Regions from separate parts of the Homo sapiens genome. Here regions 2, 3, 4, 5, 6 and 7 are each linked to region 1. Evidence: promoter capture Hi-C in 16 types of primary human blood cells and fetal thymus (Javierre and others, 2016). All regions are on one chromosome and are shown on one strand. Each heading gives the region's core, a stretch centred on a gene start or on the middle of the fragment in contact. The rest is flanking DNA. Distances are from core to core; before and after follow the strand shown. Region 1 holds the start of KCNK18 (potassium two pore domain channel subfamily K member 18). Region 2 overlaps HSPA12A (heat shock protein family A (Hsp70) member 12A). Region 3 has its middle 6.8 kb from the start of HSPA12A. Region 4 overlaps LOC105378498 (a long non-coding RNA gene). Region 5 has its middle 31 kb from the start of MIR9851. Region 6 has its middle 11 kb from the start of MIR9851. Region 7 has its middle 8.3 kb from the start of MIR9851.

Region 1 (3,117 bases), core at 192-2,691:
TCTGATGTGTTGCTGGCTTAGAGAGCCTTGAACTTGCTGGTAGTCTAGGCCCTGCGATGGTGCAGTGTCCCTTTGGCAGCAATCTCCCAGGTCCACTGAGCAGGCTGGCGTCTGTCTGGCAAGGATGCAGGGAGTGGGACCCTCCACAGACAGGAGACTCTGCCTCCCTGGACTGGCCTCTTGTCTCTGGGAGCTGCACCTGTTCCCAAATCAAGGTCTGGGCTGTGGAAGGAGCCCCCACACCAGAGTGGGAGGGGAGGGGCTCCCTGCACCCCATTCTTCTCCTGACTTTTAGTGTCTGGTTTTCCTTTGTTTTTCATTTATCTACTCTCCCTTGTTTTATCTTGCTCTGTTGAATACAATAACAAGCTTCCTTCGAGGAACACAGCAGAGTAGAAACAAGTGACTAAATATGAAGAAAATGCAATGAGGACACTATAAAGTGACTTCTGTCTTCCAAGAGCCAGAATGTTCCTTGTCTCCTCTGCTTCTCACAGGGTCCCTGTGACCACCAAGTCTGAGATTGGGGGTCCCCTTCTCTCCCGCAGACTGAGACCCAGAGAGAACAAAGCTTTGCCTCCACGGATTGCAGAGCAAGCTGGGAGAGCAGCCAGGACAACAGCCAGGACCCCCACCCCTCCCCCCAGGTCTTCTCACAACACCTCCCCACTCCGCTGAGCCAGACAGCAGAAAAGGAGTTTGAAACAGGAAGTGGGGGCGTGGGTGGCAGGTGCTCCTGCTGGAATTTAAATCCAATTTGGGTTGTTCCCTAAATTCTCATCCCTGCAAACTGAATCCTGGGTCAGGCAGACATAGTTCTGAAAAGCAAGCTAGCCCCCCAACCCCAGCCCCAGATTTGCTCACCCATGCACCCCACCCCACCAAATTCCCAGTAATCCATCGTCCCCTGAGGCCACTGGTCTGGATGGGGCTGGGTGCTGAGGCACAGGAAGGGGAGCTGGTCTTTCCTGAGCACCTCAGGGTGCTCAGGGCCTTTCCTGCATTCTTCACAGCAACCCTGAGAGGCAGTTAGTCTCCCCACTTTTCAGAGGAGAAAACAGAGGTTCAGAAAGAAGTTACTCGCTTAAAGTGCCCAGGCATGAGGAGGATCCAGGCAGGCAGCTCCCAGACCCAGCCTCCTAGAAGGCAGCCCTCTGCTCTTGGGGGACTGCTGCCACCACGGAGAAAAGGCCCACCCTGTCCAGGTGAGGCACCTACCTGTTTCACTGCAGTTCAAGATTCTGCAGAGCTCCTCCAAGAACTTCTCAAACTCTCCATCATCTGCTGCCACCAGGACCTGGCCGTCCTCAATGGCAGAGAAGACCACAGCACCCACCAGGGCGTAGGTCACCAGAAAGCAGAGGAAGCAGAGGCCAGGGAAGAGCTTTCCCAGGGCCTCTGGGCAGCATCTCCTGGCCTGGGGGTGCCCCGAGACCTCCATCGTCCCTGAAGCATGCAGGGCAAGAGGAGCTGGTGGAAGAGGCAGGAGCATCTAAGCCCCGCCAGGAAGATGGGGTAGGAGTGCCCGGAGAACAGCCAGGCTCCAGTGCTAAGTGGATGGTGCGTGTGCTTCCCCAAGGACTCAGGAAGCAGCCGGCAACTCATCATGTTCAGTTCTTCCGAACTACTCAGATGGCGCCCTCCCTAGCACCCCAGATTGCTATTGATCCGCTGGGCCGGCCCTGGAGCTGCCTGGAAGGGGCTTTGGGAGGATAGTGTGGTTGTTGTTTTGTGCTACGTTTAATCTTTTCTATGCCCAAACTGCAGTTTTGAATTGCAGATCCCAAACCTGATCTTTGGCGTTTAGTCAAGTGATTCTTTCCTGAGAGCTGTCTGTGACACAACTTGGCTTAGGGTACCTGGTCTTCTGGACAGGTGATAATAGTAGTAACCTATAATAGTAACAGTAACCATAGTAACTAATGCGGCCAGAGCTCAATGGTTTCCAAAGGACCTTTATCCTGTGTGGATCTAATTATTGGTCCCAATTCTTCACTCCCCTGCTGCATACCCCCCCTTGCTGGGGCCTCACGGTGGGCAGAGTGTACTTCCTTGAACTTGGCTTTAGGGTAGGTCATCTCACTTGCTCCAGACAGCTGGGCATTAGCAGATGTGATGCAAGCAGGGGCTAGGCCTGTGCTTGTGCATTTGGACTTGCTTAGCTATGCCTGTGTCTGCCATGAGAAAAGGTGCCCCACCTTTCAATTTTCAGCTCAGAGTAGACCAATGTGCAACTTTCTTTGGTGGTCCTGAATCCAGGTTCATCCAACACCACCTACCTCCACCATACAGCCTAAGTTTGACCCCAACGAGATTAAAGTCTGAGATGCACCGGGAATGATGTTGGTGCCACATCTGTGCTGGCCCCTAAGATCAAACCCCTGTGTCTGTCTCCAAAACACATTGGTAATGACATCGTTAGGGCAACCGGTGATTTGAAGGATCTGAGGATTACAGTGAAACCATTCAGAACAGGCAGGCATAGATTGAGGTAGTACCTTCTGCCTCTGCCCTGATCATCAAAGCCCTCAAGGAACCTCCAGGAGACAGAAAGAAACAGAAAAACATTAAACCCAATGAAAATATCATTTGATGAGAATGTCAACATTGCCTGACAGATGCAGCTCCAATCTTTAGTTAGGGAACTCTCTGGAACAATTAAAAAGATCCCGGGGACTGCACCATCTGTGGGCTGCAATGTTGATGGTCACCACCCTCATGACATCAACAGTGGTGCAGTGGAATGCTCAGCTTGTTAAGCACAAAGGAAAATATTTCAATAAAGGATCATTTGACAACCAGTGGGGATAAAAAGTGCCTCAGATGGCAGCTGTGGAGATGCATGCAGGTTCAGATCCCTCTTCTAGAAAGGACTCGCTGTGCAGCTTTGATGAGCATGGTTCATGACAGCCCCTTTTGTTCTCTGAGGGTTTGCCACCGGTTTCAAGCCCTCTTCTTGGAGAAGCCTGTGCCCACTGACTAAGCAAGGTGGGGACCCAAGGGCCTATTCATTTCTGCCCAATACAGGACTCCTCCAACTTGAGCCTGTTCCAGAGTGGCCCTTTGGTCTACAGAGAGAACTTGTCAGTCTGTGTTATGATCCAGAGGCTTTCCCTG
Region 2 (3,117 bases), core at 243-2,742, 480 kb after region 1:
CACCGGCCCTCACGTTTCCTATCACTAAATTTTCCTGAAGGTTCCCTTTGCCAAGTTCCTGTCTGGTGGGAATTTTTAGCTTTGATTAACAAGCCTAGAGAAGCAAAACGTAAAGGAAATGTATTTGCTGACATTATGCAAAGGTGGGGGCTCTGCTTGTGTCATTGTGTAAGCACACGGTCGTTTTTTCAGCAGCAGTTGGAACGATTTTATAATGATGATGGTAACAATAATAATAAACAAAATAACATCCATAATGTATCGGGTGCTTGCCATGAGCCAGATTTTACAGATATAGATGCCCACCCAGTGGCATGCATCTAGGACGTGGTCATGGTGGGATTTGAGCTCAGGCTTTCCCGACTTTGAACTAGTACCTCTAACATCTCTCTTACCAATATGTGCCTCTCCTACCTGGATCTTCGGATTTGAGAGAGAATTATGGTTTTCGAAATAGAGCTTTGCAGACCAAAGAATACGCCACACAGTCTCATGAGCCTGCAGACAGAGACAGCCAGGAGCTGCCCTGTGATGGTGACTCCTGACTTCCTCCAGCTATTTGCTCGTCTGTGAAATGGGGATTTACATTCACACCTGTCTCGTAGTTAGAGATGATGCCTTAGTGGCACTGGGAACGTGCAGGTGTGCAGGCTTGGAGTCAGAGAGCTCTGAGTCTGCCTGGGTGGCATCCTGACTAAGGATGCGGGCTTCTTTCTTACCCTTCTAGGCTTCATTTTGTCACCTACAGAATGGGAATAATGATAGTAATTCACAGCAACCTTCCTTACAGGGCAGGTCCCCATGAGATACACCTGTAAGGCTCTTAGCTTGCATGAAATACACATGCAGTGAGTGCTGACTATGATAGGTTTCCCAATAGAGTGCTGGGTTTGTATATTTCTAGTGGTTTTGAATTAATAATTTGAGTTTGAATAAGCTTGCAAAAGAGCCTAAAAGTAAACAAAAAAACGCATGAATATCTGACCCCATGAAGGAATTTGGAAAATGGTGGGTGGAGGGTGGTGTTTATTTCAGAGTTTCACTGGTCCTGTGTTCATTGATAACAGAGTGACGGGGGCCCTGAGAATACCAATTCTCACTTCATGGAGGGAGAAGGGGGCACAGAGGGAGGTGAGGCAGTGTCCCCAGGCTCACAAACATCCACACCTCCACTCTCTTCATCCTCCTCAGGAGCTGTTTTGTTTTTCTTCTGTTCCTCTAAGAGCAGCAGCCGAAGAGCCAACTCTGGCTTTGCTCCTATTCCAAAGCCGTCCTGATTCTAGGAGACATGCCCCTTGGCCTGCAGCCCACGTATGACTGCTTGGCCTGCCACCTCCACTCATCCCAATGCTAAGGCCAACCTGGGGCCTGAGCAGAAAACCCAGTGCCCTTGTCCCCAACAGGAGCACATGCATGCACACACACACATACACACCCCCCACCCCACCCCCCAACACACACCTGCCTTTCGGGAGGACTCAGAGCTTGTACAAAGGGTCACAGGGTGGCATCTAACATCAGCATTTCAGCTCACCATTCCTGTCTGGGGTGAGAACCACAGGAAGATGCCAAGGCTGTTACATCTTGCCCCTCCCATATGGCATTGGGATCTCAGCAAGTCTGAAGGACAAAGCAAAATGGGCATGTCAGGGTCCTTTAAGTGATCCTGCCTCTCTGCAGGGGCATACCCTACTGTTTCTCAGACATGGAGGGGCCCAGCAGGGGATGGAGGATACCCCCCACCCCCACCTCCTCTGAGGCCCTGGGTTCACAGAGCGGCTACAAAGTCTAGGAGCTGTCAGCTGATGACCAGAGGGCCCTGTACCTGAGATCTGGCTGGCGCCCATCCCAGAGTGGGAGCTGCTCAGCTGGTGGCTGGACATCTGTTTTGTCATCTGCGAGGGGGCCAGTGGGTGCCTGCTGAAATTCTGACTGCTCTAAGGGCTATTTGGTCTACTGGGCCGACCAGCCTCAGCCCCAGAGAAGCCTGATGTTTGGGAGCCCTTCACCCACCCTGAGACCCAGGTCCAAAACCTTCCCAAGCTTTCAGAGTCCACATTTGTAGGTTTCAGTGAACTCGTATCCTTATTGGTTTGTTCATTCATTTGCCAAATATGTGTGGAGCACCTACCATGTATGGGCCAGGTGCTCTGATGGACAGCGGAAGAAAAACATTGACCTGCCGTCCGGGAGCTTCCATGTAACTGGCACATTCAAATCACAATTATTTTATTATGGAAAGTTTTAAACATACAAAAGCAGAGCAAATATTATACTGAAGCCTCATGAATCTGTCACCAGTTTTAGTCATTATCAACTTGTGGCCAACCTTGTTTAATCCCTGCCCCTTCCCTCTCCTGCTATTCTGGTACAAATCCCAGAAATGCTATTGTTTTGTCTGTACATTTGAGAATGTATCCCTAGAGGACAAGGGCTCTTTTAAAAATTATGTAACTGTACTATTAATAATAATCCCTTAGCATTACCAATGTCTGGTCAGCATTTACGTTTCTAATTGGCTCATAAATGTAACATTTTTGGATTGTTTGAGTTAGGATCCACTAAAGGTCCATCCACTGCATTTACTGGAGTTGATGTGTGTTTTAAGTCTCTTCTAAGCTGTCGCAGTTGGTCTCCGGGGCAGTCAGGATAGCCTGGGAAATTATCAGTGCAAATTGTCAGCCAGCCTCAGACCTACTGGATGAGAAACTCTGGGGGTGAGACCATTAATCTGTGTTTTAACAAGCCTCGGGGGTTCTGATGCACAGCAGAGCTGAGACCTTCTAGTCCATAGGTTTGCCCTCCTTTCCTGTAGATTTTCCTTGTGATTATCTTTAGGAGAAACCTGTCTCTCTTGTCGAGTTTCCCCCATCTGGGTTTTCCAGTTGATCACCAGGAACTGATGCACAAGTTCTTCTCTCATCTGCACCGGGGGAGCTGAGAAGGCTCTTCTCTCTTAAAAGAGGAGGCTGACTTTTAGAGGTGGAGGTCCCTGAAGGGTGATGCAGAATTTGCCTGCTGTAGAAGCAGGATGCACGCTAGGCAGGGGAACAGCATGTGCAGTGCCCAGAGGCTGAATCAAGCACAGATGTTCCAAGGCCTGTGGATAGGTTTGGT
Region 3 (3,117 bases), core at 300-2,799, 450 kb after region 1:
CTCAGCTCACTGCAACCTCGACCTCCGAGGCTAAAGCGATCCTCCCACCTCAGCCTCTCAAGTAGCTGGGATGACAGGCACACACCACCATGCTTAGCTAATTTTTAGTTTCTGTAGAGACGAGGTCTCCCTATGTTGCCCAGCCTGGTCTCAAACTCCTGGGCTCAAGCAATCCTCCCGCTTGGCCTCCCAGAGTGCTGGGATTACAGGTGTGAGCCACGGAGCCCGGCCCCTCTCTTTATTTAAACTTCTTTCTTGGGTTTCTTCCCATAGACTGTATTCTGTTGCATAGCAGCGTTACTCTCTTCTACACCTCCTCCATGCCTGGAGTTATGCTGTTTTTTTATGTATTGAGAGGACTGTTTTTTGTAAGCATCTTCATCTTCTTCTGTTAGGAAATGCGTATAATCCACGACATTCTGACTGATGATGTGCTTTCGATGCACTTCTGCATTAAATTCCTTGTTTTCAAAATCATAACCAGGGAATCATTGGGTACCATGAGGGGTAGACAAGCCTCCATCTGTGCTCCCTTCAAGGCCCCCCAAGACTTTATTGCCAGAAGTAGTTTTGGCAAGGCCTGCATCCAAATAGCAGGTGAAGGCACCAGGCTGACCATAAGTGCTTTCTACATTGTATTCATCACCAGTCACCTCCACTTGGCCTTCATAGATCTTGCCCATGCCAGACCTATTGAGAAGCCTGCAGGCCAGCAGCAGGCCAGGACAATGTGCCGCAGCATAATTTGTCAGGCCAACCTTCACACCATGTTTTGGTAGCTCATGAGCATAAGGTACACACATTATCATATCCCCTTCCATACAGGCATAAGCAATGTGACAAACACTCTCTGTGTTAGTTATGTGAGCGATCATCCTGTATTTGGGCATGTTGTACTTATTTTTATCCTGTATTGCCAAGCATTTCCAAGCACAGTAATCCATTTTACCCTCTTGTCTTCTAAATTTCACTTTGTATCTCTTAAAGCAGGCCTTATTCTTGACAACTTTAACAAACCCTGTCCTGCAGAACAGAGACCTGCATCCTTCGCTAGACATAGAGCCCACAACTTTTAAATAAAGCACAAGATCTGAAAGAAACAAAATAGCCTAAAGCAGCCCATGGAGAATCCACCTCCAGGCAAGGTTGCTCCTGGTCTCACTGGACCTTTGGTTTTCTCATCTTAAAAAACTCGGGAATAGTGATGTTTCCCCCTCAGTGCCGCTACATGAGTCAAGCGAGAGGAGAGATATAAGGGTGCTTTGTGAACTGTAATTCTGTCTTCTAATTTGATAATTTGTTCATTCATTCAACACGTTTCTTGAGGCCCTGCCATGTGCCAGGTGCTGCGCTAGGAGCTGGGGACATTGCTGCACACAGATGAAGGCATGACAGACAAACGTGTTCTTGAGCTCAGAATGCCGTGGGGCAAATTCTTCCTCTGCCACTTTCTTCTTAGGTCACAACAGCTGAGTACCTGATCTCCGGGCCTCAGTTTCCTTACCTGTAAAATGGGGGACATTAACAATATAGTTCTCTCATCTACACGGTCATGAAGATAAATGGGGCAATGGATGTGAGGTTCCCAGAGCAATGCCCAGCACATAGCAGGTGCTTGATAAATGTTCATTCTCACCACTGCTGGTAGGAAGAGCCCAGCAAGTGAGGAAGGCTCACCATAAACAGATTTGCAAAATGACTTTAAAGCCATTTAAAGTCATTCGGCACTGGGCTATGGGCTGGAGAAGGGGAAAGTCATTTTTCTCTATAACGTGAAACCCTTGGCTCTTATAAAAGTGCCGTGGAGAAATGGGGTGGCATAATATATGGAACCATAGGTTGGGTGGGGAGGGTCCTTCTCAGGAGCTGCCCTTCAAGGTGAATCAGTGGGATGACACAAGGTAGGAAAGCAGACAGCAGGGGGTGAGGAAGGGAGAGGAGCTGGGTCTGCTCTGCAGATGAGGAGACTGAGGCCCAGGGACAAGTGACTGGTCCCAGCTCCCACAGGGCTGCCACCAGGAACCCAGTGATATGGTTTGGCTGTGTCCCCGCCCAAATCTCATCTTGAATTATAGCTCCCACAATTCCCACATGTCTTGGGAGGGACCTAGTGGGAGGTAATTGGATCAGGAGGGCAGCTCTTTCCCATGCTGTTCTTGTGTAGTGAATATGTCTCATGAAATCTGATGGTTTTATAAAGAGGAGTTCCCTTGCACAAGCTCTCTCTCTTTGCCCACCGCCATCCATGTAAGATGTGACTTGCTCCTTCTTACTGTCTGCCATGATTGTGAAGCCTCCCCAGCCATGTGGAACTGTGAGTCCATCAAACCTCTTTTTCTTCCCAGTCTCAGGCATGTCTTTGTCAGCAGTGTGAAAATGGACTAACACATCCAGTGACCCAAAGATAGACAATATTTGGGCTCACTCTTGCAGAAGTCACTGAGAAAAGTGCTGGTTTCCCTGAGAAGAGTAGCAATGAGGATGGTGACTTAGTGTGCATTCCTAACTCTGGGGTTTTTGGAGACTTGTGCAAGCATTGCTCTTGGACACTGCTGTTGAAGCTCTCAGCCCTCTGGCTCAGATAACACCCTTATTCTAGGTCATTGGTCTCCTTCTCCTCAGCTGTATGCTGCCTGTACCTCTCCTCCAGGCAAATACTGTGACCATGGGCTTGCTACCAGGAAGAACACAACTGTGCAGACATGCCCCAGTGAGTCATCACCAAGTAATCACAGCTAGCACAAGCTATCTTCCACTTTGTATTTTGCAGAAGAGGCCAACAAGGGTCAAGGGTTAAGCTGGGCTGGGAGTCAGGGGGCTGAGTTTGACCGTAGCTCTGTCACTGATTGTGTGACTTTGAACAAGAGGTTTAGTATCTCTGAGCCCATGTTTCTACTTCATTATTTATTTATTTTTTATTTTTTTGAGATGGAGTTTTGCTCTCGTTGCCCAGGCTGGAGTGCAGTGGTGCAAACTTGGCTTACTACAACCTCCACTTCCCAGGTTCAAGCAATTCTCCTGCCTCAGCCTCCCAAGTAGCTGAGATTACAGGCACGCACCACCATGCCCAGCTAATTTTTGTATTTTTAGTAGAGACGGGGTTTCACCATGTTGGCC
Region 4 (3,117 bases), core at 175-2,674, 430 kb after region 1:
GGAATGAGGGTCTGGTGATGACACCATAGCAAGGGGTGGGGAAAGCATTCCTTAAGAAGACCCCACCAAGCCCACACCTTAGTCTTGTCTGATTGCTAAGAGGGGGCTCTCTAGGTCCAGCATAGAGTCCAAGTGACCTCACAGGAAGGTTTGTGGCTGGAGGAAGGGGAGGTCAAGTGATGATTGGTCAGTCAGAAGATCCTAGTGGTGGCTGGGCCAGGGGACTTCTAAGGACAGAGGTATTGAATGGTCCGATGTTTGTGTCTCACTGTGCTGTGCTGGATGTCACTTTCCACACCTGCTTTGAAAGTCTGCAGCGGGCAAGAATCACAACGTCCAGTCCTACAGGTCAGGCCAGTGTGGATGAGAGAGTGTGCTCACAGGAAGCAGAGGGTGACACACAGCAGGGCAGTCCCAGGAAGCAGAGACTTGGAGTTAAAGATAACTCAGAGGAACAAGCTGGCCCTGCAATAGGGGGCTGTGCTAAGGCCAAAGTCAGGGTGATGTCAGCAGGCTGCTTTAAAAAAAAATAATTGAGCCGGGCTAAGTGGCTCACACCTGTAATCCCAGCACTTAGGGAGGCTGAGGTGGGAGGATGACTTGAGGCCAGCAGTTCAAGACCAGTCTCTGCAACATAGTGAGACTGCCCCCAACTCTACAAAAATAAAAGAATTAGCCAGGCTCCTGTAGTCCCAGCTACTCAAGAAGCTGAGACAGGAGGTTCACTTGAGCCCAGGAGTTCGAGGTTGCAGTGAGCCATGATTGCACCACTCCTCTCCAGCCGGGAGTGGAGGCTATATATTTATTCTGAGACAGGGTCAAATAAATTGAGACATTTACATAACATAAAATTTACCATTTTAAAGTGTACAAGTCAGTGGGTTTTGGATATTCACTGTGTTGTGCAAGCATCACCATTGTCTAATTCAGAACATTTTCATCACCCCAAAGAGAAACCCTGTACCTATTAGCAGTTGCTCCTATTCCCCCTCCCCACAGCCCCTGGCAAGCACTAATCTGCTTTCTGTCTCTATGGATTTGCCTACTCCAGGCATTTCATATAAATGGAATCAAACAGTATGTGGTCTTTTGCATCTGGCTTCTTTCACTTAGCGTAATGTTTTCAAGGTTCATTCATGTCGTAGCATATATCAGTACTCTATTCTTTTTTATGGCTGAATAATGTTCTACTGTATGGAGAGAACACATTTGATCCATTCACCCGTGGATGGATGCTTGGGTTGTTTCTACTTTTTGGCTGTTGTGAACAGTGCTGCTGTGAACACTTGTGTCCACGTTACTGTGTAAACTTAGATTTTTGGTTCTCTTGGATATATACCTAGGAGTGGACTTGGGGGGCCATTTGATAATTCTATGTTTAACTTTTTGAGGAACTGCCAAACTTTTTAAGGCTGTTTTTGTAGCCCTGCCTCTGAGATACTGGGGGTACACGTGATTAGAAGAGGTAGTTACTCCCTTTTGAAAGAGGCTGCAATTAGGGAACATAGTGCCGAGAGACAGAGTTCACAGAGCCCTTGGTAAATTAGCCCAGATGGCATCATGCTGTCATGAAGCCACACACGGCATCAGAAGCAAAGGGGTCTCTTGCCTGGGATTTTGGTTAAAGCCCCCTTGTGGCCTGGACTTCTGAGTCTGGGTTCTGAGCCAAAGAGGCTTAAAGCACTGGTGATGGTGCAGAGTTAACCAACAACCTCCCCTCCCTTGTTTTGGATTTCTGTGGACAAATTAAAAACTCACTGTGCCCCACCCAGTCTGTTTGCAGCAGGAATGTGGGGCTGGCCTTGCTGGCTGAGGCTAGTGGGAGCAGAGAAGGGAGGGGCCGGGAGATAATGTTGGGGAGGCTCCCGAGGCCCCAGGGCCAAGCCTCCACCCAGCAGCTGGGGTGGATGACCCTCTCCTGTCTGCTCTGCCTTAGCTCTGCAGGGACAGTGCTGCTTGTCTGCACCGTCACTGGTGGGGGAGGGGTGCAGGATGGGAGGAAGGGGGATGAACACAGTGCCTGAGCCAAGGAGAATAAATCAGTGGATGAGCCTTCTTCCAGGCAGCCCTCTGGCCTCTTCCAGTCTCCGTGGCCCAGGCTCTTGTCCTCTGGTTGCCTCTTTGCTGCCTCTTTTCAGGACCTCGTTCCCCAGGGCCACTGTTTCCTCCAGGCCAATGAGGAGAGGAGACACTGTGAAGCAGACTCATCAGGAACCTGCTAGAACCAGATCAGGTGCCCCCGCTCTAGCCCCCAGAGGCCTGCAGCCCTCCACTCCCCACCCTAGCCCATCTCAGGGTCATGAACTGCAGGGGCAGACCCCAGCAGGCGTTCCCTCCTCAGTTCCCTGGGGACTGCGTCTCCACTTCCCCTCCGCGATGGGCTTGGCTGTCAGCCTGATGGATCTTTTTGGGGTCGACTGGTGGACGCAAACCCAGCAGTTCCCTGGGGGCCCTACGGGTGCCAGTGTGAGCTTTTTCTTTTTAAGTTCCTAGCATTTTATTTAAAGGAAATGTCTCAACAAAATTGTTAGTTATTAAATGATGCGGCCAGAGTAGGTAAAAGATTATTTGAACCAAAGATGAGTGAATGGCATTCCTTACTCCTAGCAAGAGTGAGTTTGAAGAGAAACATGATTAAAAGAATGGGATTCCCATGAGCCATGCCAAGCTGATTGAATTGTGGGGAGGAAATGACAATCTGGGTTAATTTTTAATGTCATTTCCAGGCAGTTAAAACCACTGAGGGAGCAATGAACTTTCTTCTGAATGCCTCCAAGAAGGGGACCAGGCAGTCTCTGTGAGGGCTGTGGGGCAGCTTTGTCTGAAGATGCAGATGGGCAGAAGTGTCCCTTTCTTACAGGACGTTAAGTTGGAGGTGGGAGCTGGGTAGGGGCATCCAGAGGAGCTTTTGAAAGTGAGTAAAGTCCTCCAGGAACACATTTTGGCTCCTCTCCAAGCCAGTAGCCACTTTGCTCCCAGGTAGGGCGACCACCTGTCCCTGTTGGCCCAGGACTGAGGGAGTTCTCGGGTTGCAAGAATTTCAGTTTTTCAACCAGGGCAGTCCTGGACAAACCGGGATGAATTGGTCATCCTAACCAGCAGCCTAGGACCCAGGAC
Region 5 (3,117 bases), core at 388-2,887, 400 kb after region 1:
GGGACTGATGGACACCCCTTCCTCAGTGCTTCCGTTTTGTGGCCTGTGTGTTCCTGTTGCACTGCCAAATGCAAGTGGTGTGTTCATGTGTTCATCCCTGCCCCTCACAGAGCCACGTACACAGCTCTCAGCAGTTGACGCCATCCTCTGGTCACCTTCCACCCTGTTGAGGGCTTTTCCCTGGAAACAGGGGCTTCTGTCCCTTCATCTACTAAACAGCTTCTTTGGTTTCTTCTACTCAACAGCTTATTTTGTTTCTTCTACTGAACAGCGTGTCAATACTGCATTTGGAGGCAGGAGACGTGGGTTCACATTCCAGCCTCCCACATACTGCTGGGTGACCTGAGCCAACACACACACTCAAACACATATGCATATACACACATGCACACACATCCACACGAACAGCCCTGTGAGGCTCCTGGAGTAAGCGGGAGCACACATTTGACAAACAATTGTAAGGAACCCAAACATCTGACTGCTGGTCCACAGGTCCTTCTGCCACCCCCTAGTCAGACTGTAAGCCCCCTGGGGTCAAGGACGATGACCCACAACCTAAGAGTCTCAAATGAGGAAGCAGCCTTCAGTGGCAGCCTGTCAGCCCCGTGCACCAGCCAATGAAGTACATAGGATCTACACAGATATGTCCCATATCTATTAGTGTCTCAGGAGCCCCTCTGTTTAGCAAATGACAAGGAACTCAGGCCACTGAGTTCTGGGGCTCCAAAGAGAAACCTGTAGCTCCCCCTGGTGGCTGCAGCAAGTGCGTGCTCTCAGCCAGCTCCTGCGGATGGGAAATGCATCACATCCTGGTGGGGTTCACTTCTGTGGGATTTCTTTGGAGGACCTCAAGAAGAGTTCCCGGGGGCAGCAATAATCATGCAGGGAAAATAAAAACGTTGCAATGGAGGGGGCCCCAAGTAACCCTGCTATACATCTTTGAAGTGGGCGGAAAAATGATATAGTGAGGGTTTGGAAATGACAGATTGCAAATTTTTCTGATGTGAAGAACCTGAAGATATCACTCTTGTCAAATCAGAAAGGTCAGTCACCCTCAGCCTGGGGCTGTCCTTGGGTTGCTTCAGAACCATGTTCCCCATCCAAGGGTGGGGCTGGGCAGAGGGGCTCAGGCTCTGGGAGGCACCCAGAGCTTTGCTCTCAAATCTCTGCCCCGGGGCTCAGCTAGGATGCTGCAGCGGCTACAGCTGGGGGTTTCCCTTTCAGTGTTAAACGCTTTTGCTGTCTTAAACGAAACTTTTGGAGAAGGGACAACTTTCTAACCTCATCAGCCCTGCACTCTGCTCCATGGTCTGGAGGAGTTTGCATTTTGTAGTTTGAGTGGGGATGGGGAGGCAGGAGCAGGCCTGGGGCAGGGACAGCGTGGGGTCCAGAGACCCAGAGCAGCAAGACCCACAGGGCAGGACAGGAAGGCTGTGGAAAGGGAGAGGGGAGCTGCAAAGACCCGAAGACCCGTTGTCTTTACTTTCCTCTTGCCTGCAGGGATTGTCACTGGTCTAGAGTTCATTTTTGGAGTCTTGGATTAGTGTTTCCCAAATTTTGATCATTCAACTATTATTATTATTATAACAGCTAACGTGAACTGAGTTCTTGGTAAGTACCAGATGCTATACAAGTAATATATTCATGAAGTATTATTTTATATTGTGTATAACTTATTTAATTTTCTTCTTTCTTTCTTTTTTTTTTTTTTTTTTTTTGATGGAGTCTTGCTCAGTCACCCAGGCTGGAGTGCAGTGGCGGGATCTTGGCTCACTGTAAGCTCCGCCTCCTGGGTTCACGTCATTCTCCTGCCTCAGCCTCCTGAGTAGCTGGGACTACAGGCACCCACCACCACGCCCGGCTAATTTTTTTTGTATTTTTAGTAGAGGCGAGGTTTCACCATGTTAGCCCGGATGATCTCGATCTCCTGACCTTGTGATCCACCCGCCTCGGCCTCCCAAAGTGCTAGGATTACAGGCATGAGCCACCGCGCCCGGCCTTTAATTTTCATAACAATGCTATGAAGCAGGAAATATTATTTCCATTTTGGAAATGAGAATTTATGTATATAATAATTTATAAATAATAATATATGATATACTTATTTAATATTTTCCTTTGAATTTCATCCTCTTACCAAGTAATTTTATTTACTATAATTTTTTTTTTTTTTTTTTTTTGAGACAGAATCTCACTGTTGCCCATGCTGGAGTGCAGTGGCACGATCTCGGCTCATTGCAACCTCTGCCTCCCGAGTTCAAGCAATTCTCCTGCCCCAGCCTCCTGAGTAGCTGGGATTACAGGCACGTTCCACCACGCCTGGCTAATTTTTGTATTTTTTTTTTTTTAGTAGCGGCAGGTTTCGCTATGTTGGCCAAGCTGGTCTCAAACTTCTAGCCTCAAGTGATCCACCCACCTTGGCCTCCCAAAGAGCTGGGATTACAGGCATGAGCCACCATGCCTGGCCTCTTACTAAGTAATTTTAAAAGGAAATTTTATTTTACTACTATAAATGTAAAACTACATTACCTGTCAAATGTAGGAAAAAGCTATTATTTAAAATCTAGTAAAATAAATATGTGCCCAAGTACACTGAAAATCATCCTCTGTACTATTGGAAGACAGCCTAGCATGTTTGGAGAAATATTGCCTTGGGAATGGAAGGGACCTTTCCTTGCAGGGTGGAAGAAGGCCATGTTGCATTTGGGGGTATGAAGGTGAACTGAGCTCTGTAGAGACCTGGTTACAGAATGTTTGGGTTTATTTTGCTTTTATTTATCCCCCTTCTAAGATGAATACTTACCTCATTAATCTTCAGCCTTTCTATTTTTATTTTTAAAATATATTCACAATTAAGGCTATAAGTTTGTCTCTGCTGCTCAAGTTACATCTTATAAGTTTTGATATAGTATATTTTCTTTTTTGATCAATTCTAATTATTTTTTAAATTCTGATTTTGATTTCTTCTTTGACCAAAGGGTTATTTAAAAATGTATTTCTTAATTCTAAATGTGAACTTAAAAAAACTATTATCTTTTTTTTCTTTTCTTTGGGATGGAATCTTGCTCTGTCACCCAGGCTGGAGTGCAGTGGTGTGATCTCGGCTCACTGCAATCT
Region 6 (3,117 bases), core at 257-2,756, 380 kb after region 1:
GAGGCAGAGGGTTTTTTTGGGGGACTTTGGGTGACAAGCCTGAAATATTTTAACAATGGCCGCGATTCTCCACTTCTCTTCATTCTATTGGCAGCCTGACACCCATCGCTATGGTGGTGGAGCACAGAGAAATCTTAAATAGAAGATCATTATGTGTAGGTATGAATATGCCATCCCCCCCACCCCCACCCACACACACACACTGGATTTCCTCTGCCAGAGCCTTGAACCGAGCGAATAGAAGACCAGCCTGTCCCTGAACTTGACGGCATCAGGAGTAGCTCCACTAAGGTCACCGCAGAAGGCTGTGCCGAGGGTTAGCACCCAGCACAGAAGCCGGCACCTTGTTCCCTATTGTCTCTGGAATGCCATTGTTTTAATTAAGCCGACTTTGTAGCCAGGGTTCATTCACTACAGACAAAGCCTCTGTTAGAAAAAATTAGACCTCAGAAACTTCTAGAGAGCGAGGGGTGGAGGGTGGAATCACAAGCCACTGGCGGTAGAAGTTTCTGTTCTAAATCCCCGGGAAAAAAAACAGCAAATGGGTTTCTCCTTTTGTTAATTGTAACAAAAAAATAATAAATATGAAGTAAATCTGCATGGTGGGGTGGGGGAAGGGGTATAGGTTGCAAGAATGATTCTTTCTTTCTGCCTAAGAAATACAGTTTAAACAATCCAGATGATTCCAGCAAACTGTAGATTTCATGTTTCCACATTCGACAGCATAGTTGATACATAAGAAGGAAGAACGATTTGAATCGTGATGTCATGACTGGAGCTGCTGATTGTTTTAACACAGCTCAAGGATTGATTTCCCCACCAGAAAAATAAACTTAGCCTCAATCCAATACTGAGCAAAGGTGTTGTTGGAAGCGTTTTGTAACCCAGAGCATAAAAAGTCATCTTTTAAACCATAGTACCAGAAACTGGCGAGGGCTCCAGGCAATTTTAACCCTCTGGTATTTCTCATTAGGAAGACTTTTGTCACCCTGAAAAGAAGGAAAAACCCCATTTAAAAAAATCATGAGTGGCAGATTTTCAGGGAGACCACGCAGCTGCAACCATCGGAATTGGATGTCGGGGCTGTTTTACGTGAGCAGGACGGCGCCGGTTAAGCTTTCAGGAGCTGTGTGTCTCACCAGCTTAAGGTTAGGAAGTCAGGTGCGTGAGCCACATGGCGCCTTCTCTGCTCGCTCCTTCAGTGACATGATTTGGGTGCTGTGAAGTTTGGAGTTAGAGCTGCTAAAAACTCCAGGCCTCGGAGAAAAGGTGAAGAGTGCATTGATCAAACTGTAATTTGGAACATCATTGCCTGGCACATGGCCAACATTCTCTGCCCCGTATGCGGGGTGCCAGAGACCAGGCCAGGTGTCCTCTGCCTCTGGGGATGGCAGCTGAGCAGGAAGAACAATGGTTTCGGGAATGTTTTATATAGTCACTCGTCTGTCAGGGGCAAGATGATATGAATGTGGCAGAAAGAATGGCTTATTTGGAGCTGGAAGGTCAGCGATTGCTGAGTAATCAGGCTGAGTAAGCCAGTGGTCTTTGCGTGAGGGCTGAGACTCCAGTTCTGGTATGCCACTCACTCCTCTCTGCGGCCAGCATGCGAGTTCCTTTCCTTCTCCAAGCCTCAGTTTCCTCTCCCATAAGATGAGGAAGTAGCACCCACCAGAGAGGATGCGTGGGCTTTGATGGAGGTAATGCACCTGCACAGCTCAGCACAGAGTCTGGCCCAGTCAGTGCTCAGTGAGGATTTGTTCCAATCCACAGCCCGGCTCCTTCCTCTTAGGGCCGCGGGGGCCGAGAGGGAGAGCAGAAACACGAATTCCCTGGAGATACACATTTTGTCTTACAGATGCACTGCTTGGGAATACAGCCCTTCCAACAACAAGCTTTCTGTTTTTGAGCCTTGTCAACAGCACATGCCGAGCAGCAGGCAGAGTGCACTGAAAAGAAGGATTTGTGGCTGGCAGCGTTTGGTGGGGGAGTTGGAGGGAGTGGCCCGAGGGAAAATGACAGAGTCAGGGCCCTGCCATGTTATCCTAGAGAATCTACTTACCTGTATAAAACGGGGTAGCAGTTTCCTAGTTCCTTCCTGGGTTTTTTGCTTATTTGTTTATTTTACTTATTTATTTTTTTGAGACAGGGTCTCACTCTTCTGCCCAGGCTGGAGTGCAGTGACGTGATCTCGGCTCACTGCCATCTCCGTGTCCTGAGTTCAAGCAATTCTCCTGCCTCAGCCTCCTGAGTAGCTGGGGCTACGGGCACGCACCACCACACCTGGCTAATTTTTGTATTCAGAAAATTACATGTGGAAATGGGGTCTTGCCATGTTGGCCAGGCTGGTCTCAAACTCCTGGCCTCAAGTGATCTGCCTGTCTTGGCCTCCCAAAGTGTGGGATTGCAGGCATGAGTCCCTGGGCCTGGCCCTCTGTCTATTTTTTTTTTTTTTTTTTTTTTTTTTTGTCTTTTGGATCTGAGGCAGAGGATATCCACCACTCTGGGCAGATTTATAGGTGACCCAAAGTTGGAAGAGGCTGGCTGATTGATCAGCTGCTGATTTCAAAGATATCTCAGAAATAAGAAAAGAGCTGGTGCTAATTAAAAAAAAAAATGGGTAGGGATAAATGTAAAGTCGTGTACTTAGGTTCAAAAGTCAACTGTAAATAAACTGCATAACTGCAAGAAGAGGGGATGGTGTAAAAAGAGTGTAGGGTTTATCCCAGTTTACTGAAAAGATCAGACTGCCCCTTTGCTGTCTGCTCTCCATCTGATGGGTTTTAGGAAACTAAGTCTTAGCTCTGGTTGAAGGGAACTTATTCCCCCCTTTATAACGTAGGCTGTATTTTTAGAAAACAAATTTGCAACCCAATCACCCTCTCATACAGAACAGGAGAGGTATGTAACTTCCCAGCAAGGTGATGGTGGTGAAAGATGATCCCAATCTCGCAATGGTCCGTGGTACTCATTCCCAGATGTCCTTACCTGGTGGTGATTCAGCAGGTCCCAGAAATGTCCTTTCTCTTTTGGCTCTGAGCTGTCTAGTCTGGCCCAAGTCCTGGTCTGGCCTTTCCACTAGGACACAGCTGGATGAGGGGTCATCAGGAATACTGGGGA
Region 7 (3,117 bases), core at 365-2,864, 360 kb after region 1:
CTACTGCCTTTACTTCATCAGCTAGAAGAACCATATCCATGGCTTATCCTGATGACAGGTGATTCACCTGAGCTTTGTTCCCAGATTGGTAGCGGGCAGCATGGCGTGTCGTAAGTGGCCCTTCCCACCAACTGAATTGAAAAAGGTTTCTTTCTGATTTAGATATAAACTTACACTTTCACCTGTCGGAGGAAAATGAAACCATCACTAAGAGTTTTTTATTTTGTAGGCAGGTTCATGTCTGTGACAAAGTGATTTATCCCCAGGTAAATTACTCCTTCACATTGGTGTGGCAATGACTATTTAATAAAGCTATTTATGAAAACTCCTTAAGTGTGTGGTCCCCGTTCCCACAGTGTGTCACTGCCGCCGCCAAGTGACAGGTCTGAAAAATCAGCAAATCCTAAACAATTAAGGCATCAATTCCTCCTTCCCAAACCAAGGCCCCTGCTACCTCCTAGATAAAGATAGTGTATACTTCTGTAAGGAGAAACGAAGACCCTTCCCCAAATCACACTGGACCCTATATGGGTGTCCCTCCAAATTCATGGCCTCTCAGAGAAGAATGGCATGGGTGATGAAGAAAAGAATTTCTTTCTCTGAACGAATAGATGTAATTTTAGGGTTGAAGGAGTTTGTGTGTGTGTGTGTGTGTGTGTGTGTGTGTGTGTTCGGTTCGTTTACCACAATTCTACACTAAAATCATACCATATAGCAGGGAAGAAATTCTGTGTCTTAAAAATCCACCAGTCACACCAAAAATTTGTAACTCCAGGAACACACAAATACTTGGGGATGTATGCAAAGACTGTTCTCTTCTGCAACCTCATTCTTGAACGGGGCTAAGAGCTTTTCAATTGCTGTGACATTTTCAGCCAGGGAAGTAGTAGTTGTTGCAGAGCAATGTTTTACAGGCAATTACTTTATATGATCAATGGAGCAATTCCCCTTCCAGAAAGGAACCAAAGCGATCTAGTTAAATCATTAAAGAGAGAAAGAGAGTGGGAGAAAGGGTTCATCTCATTAGCAGGTGCCAGTGCTGCAGGCTCCATGGCGGCACACAATGTCACTGGCCCTTTAAGACAATGACTATGCTCCCTCCACCACTGCCACCCCCTCCCCTGTAGCTGTTGACAGGTCTAAACCTCCCTAGCAGCCCATTGTGGCCACAGTAGGAGGCACCTGCAGAAAATGTGCCAAAGCCAGGCAGGGAGCAAGAGCTTTTCAATAAGCTCCGCAGCTGGAGAGGAGAGGCAACACTAAACAACCAGCCTGGGCCCAGGCATGTGATGGGAAAAGGGGTCAAAAACAGACACCTCCTATGGGCTTTCTGAGCACTGTTCGGTTCAATTTGCTGACATCTTCTAGCTGGCTTTTCTCTATTTGCTTAATATGCTGAGGTATTTAGCTTAAAAGCACTAAATGCCCCATCATGATGAGCCGTTTTCTCTTTCCCCATTTACTGTTATTAAGGACATTTTCCAGCATTTTCACTCTCTTTCTGCCCCAAACTAAGATTGTTTTCTTTCGCTCCTCTCTCGTGACTACTCACAGGCATTCACCACCACACACCGCCGGCTTGATTTTACTCATCTTTAATTCAGGGATGAGTAAAGCTCTCCAAATTTAGGATCTGTGCTACCTTTATAAAGCACACACTCCTGACTGCTTTCGGCACAAGTGTGGAAGCTGAATTCTTGCATTCCAACTAGTAAACATGTATTGTGCATCTACTGTGTACCCACCAGTGTTCGTGGGGCTTCTAGAAATCCACAGGTGAACAAGATATGCTTTTCCCCTTGTACTGTTTAGGAGCCAGCAGAGGGAATGAATAGCTAATGTAACTGTGGGTTCTAGGAATTTGTTTTACACCCAGTCGCTTGTCTTTGTAATATCTACAGCCCTTTTAAGAATAAGCAGGAGTGGAGGCAGAGGACGAGGAGTACCCTGGGATGGGCTGGTGGTACATTGGCTCTGTCAAATGTGCCTTGGGGAACCAGAGGACAGAGTCTCGGCGTCATCTCTCCAAGGTAAATGGAGAAAGAACCGGGCCTCGTTCCTCAGTTTTGGCAGCTCTTGTTTCTCCACGACTCCTTACGTGCACACAACGCTTCCTGGTTTTTGTAATTTTCCATCTATTTTTTCTTTCTTGATGTAGTAAGGCATTATCTCTGTCTTGCAGATGAAAACATCTGAGACTCAGGGCTAAGCACCTTGCCCAAGGCCACACAACAAGTAGGTGGTAAGTGTACAGGCCTGCCAGGGACCCAGCTCCTCTGCGCCCACCTAAATCTTTGCTTCCCTCCTGCCGGGTGCTGCCTCTTACAAACCGTCAACCAGCACGAGTACGCGACTTAAGAGCAACATGGAAACAAATCGACATTTTCACAGTGCAACTCTTTTCCCCCCTCCTACAGATGGAGAGTGTTGGCGTGTACGGATTCTGTGGGTGTAAAGCAAAGAACAAAATGAAGTGTGATTCAAGGTGGGAAATAGCCGCTTCAGGTAGGAAATTAACTAATGTGTGTAAGTATCAAACTGGCATCTGAAATAACTGCCCCAGAACCTCATTCCTGTCGAGAGGGACTAGGTATGTTTAAAACTGGGACGTTTAAACTTCTGCACGTGTAAGATGTTTGCCAAGCCACTGCTGCAAAACCTGCTTGTTCAGAACACCAGCAAGGGGGAAGAGGTTTGAGAGAATTTCAGAGGCACCCTTGAGTCAGGAAACAAATTCGTTTCCCACCTATCCAAAGCCTAGAATCATCGCTGGCCACACTCACACGCACAGATTGTGGACCTAGCATCCGGGTAGCCTACCGGCCTCGTGCTGTCTTACTGCCCTGCTCTGGTGGCCCTGGGAGATTGGCTCTGTGAGGGCCCATACAAAGGCAGGAAGAGATGGCCTCTCGCTCTTCTGGACTTATTTTTGCCTTAACATGTCTCTCCTCTCAGAGGACTGGTCCTCTTCCTCCTTCTTCTTTGGTGCCTCCCTCCAATTCTGGAGAAAACAAGTGGACTATTCATGTAAAAAGAGAAAGACTGAGAAAGGGAGGGGGAGATGCCACCGACAAACTCCATTGAAAGCCACTGGCTGTTCATTTACATTCACACTTT

The links. The method cuts DNA at HindIII sites, captures the fragments that hold promoters and counts their contacts. A CHiCAGO score of 5 or more calls a contact.
Region 2: a fragment that was not itself captured here is called in contact with the fragment with the promoter of KCNK18 in region 1 in 1 of 17 cell types (endothelial precursors); the score reaches 5.2 in endothelial precursors.
Region 3: a fragment that was not itself captured here is called in contact with the fragment with the promoter of KCNK18 in region 1 in 1 of 17 cell types (M0 macrophages); the score reaches 5.1 in M0 macrophages.
Region 4: a fragment that was not itself captured here is called in contact with the fragment with the promoter of KCNK18 in region 1 in 2 of 17 cell types (M0 macrophages and monocytes); the score reaches 5.5 in M0 macrophages.
Region 5: a fragment that was not itself captured here is called in contact with the fragment with the promoter of KCNK18 in region 1 in 4 of 17 cell types (M1 macrophages, M0 macrophages, M2 macrophages and 1 more); the score reaches 8.1 in M1 macrophages.
Region 6: a fragment that was not itself captured here is called in contact with the fragment with the promoter of KCNK18 in region 1 in 5 of 17 cell types (M0 macrophages, naive CD4 T cells, monocytes and 2 more); the score reaches 6.6 in M0 macrophages.
Region 7: a contact is called between a fragment that was not itself captured here and the fragment with the promoter of KCNK18 in region 1, in 1 of 17 cell types (M2 macrophages). The highest score is 5.3, in M2 macrophages.

The regions. Positions count from the first base shown.
Region 1 is chr10:117,195,813-117,198,929 of GRCh38, reverse strand. It overlaps KCNK18 (potassium two pore domain channel subfamily K member 18), which reads right to left and starts at 1,441. Exons shown (of 3, transcript NM_181840.1): 1 at 1,219-1,441. The coding sequence starts at 1,441. It also overlaps the pseudogene RPL12P26. The HindIII fragment of the contact is 2,593 bases long and covers 574-3,117 here.
Region 2 is chr10:116,714,782-116,717,898 of GRCh38, reverse strand. All of the region lies in intron 1 of HSPA12A (heat shock protein family A (Hsp70) member 12A), which reads left to right. Among named protein-coding and RNA genes, the nearest start is that of HSPA12A, 26 kb to the left of the region's middle. The HindIII fragment of the contact is 1,106 bases long and covers 940-2,045 here.
Region 3 is chr10:116,747,808-116,750,924 of GRCh38, reverse strand. It overlaps a transcript of HSPA12A not described here and the pseudogene RPL5P27. Among named protein-coding and RNA genes, the nearest start is that of HSPA12A, 6.8 kb to the right of the region's middle. The HindIII fragment of the contact is 5,073 bases long and covers 1-3,117 here.
Region 4 is chr10:116,766,224-116,769,340 of GRCh38, reverse strand. It overlaps LOC105378498 (a long non-coding RNA gene), which reads left to right. Exons shown (of 3, transcript XR_946339.2): 3 at 1-536. It also overlaps a transcript of HSPA12A not described here. Among named protein-coding and RNA genes, the nearest start is that of HSPA12A, 25 kb to the right of the region's middle. RefSeq lists an enhancer at 1,957-2,522. The HindIII fragment of the contact is 8,201 bases long and covers 1-3,117 here.
Region 5 is chr10:116,794,747-116,797,863 of GRCh38, reverse strand. It overlaps a transcript of HSPA12A not described here. Among named protein-coding and RNA genes, the nearest start is that of MIR9851, 31 kb to the left of the region's middle. The HindIII fragment of the contact is 8,639 bases long and covers 1-3,117 here.
Region 6 is chr10:116,814,597-116,817,713 of GRCh38, reverse strand. It overlaps a transcript of HSPA12A not described here. Among named protein-coding and RNA genes, the nearest start is that of MIR9851, 11 kb to the left of the region's middle. The HindIII fragment of the contact is 776 bases long and covers 1,119-1,894 here.
Region 7 is chr10:116,834,323-116,837,439 of GRCh38, reverse strand. It overlaps a transcript of HSPA12A not described here. Among named protein-coding and RNA genes, the nearest start is that of MIR9851, 8.3 kb to the right of the region's middle. RefSeq lists a silencer at 1,028-1,322 and enhancers at 1,028-1,322, 869-1,504. The HindIII fragment of the contact is 9,058 bases long and covers 1-3,117 here.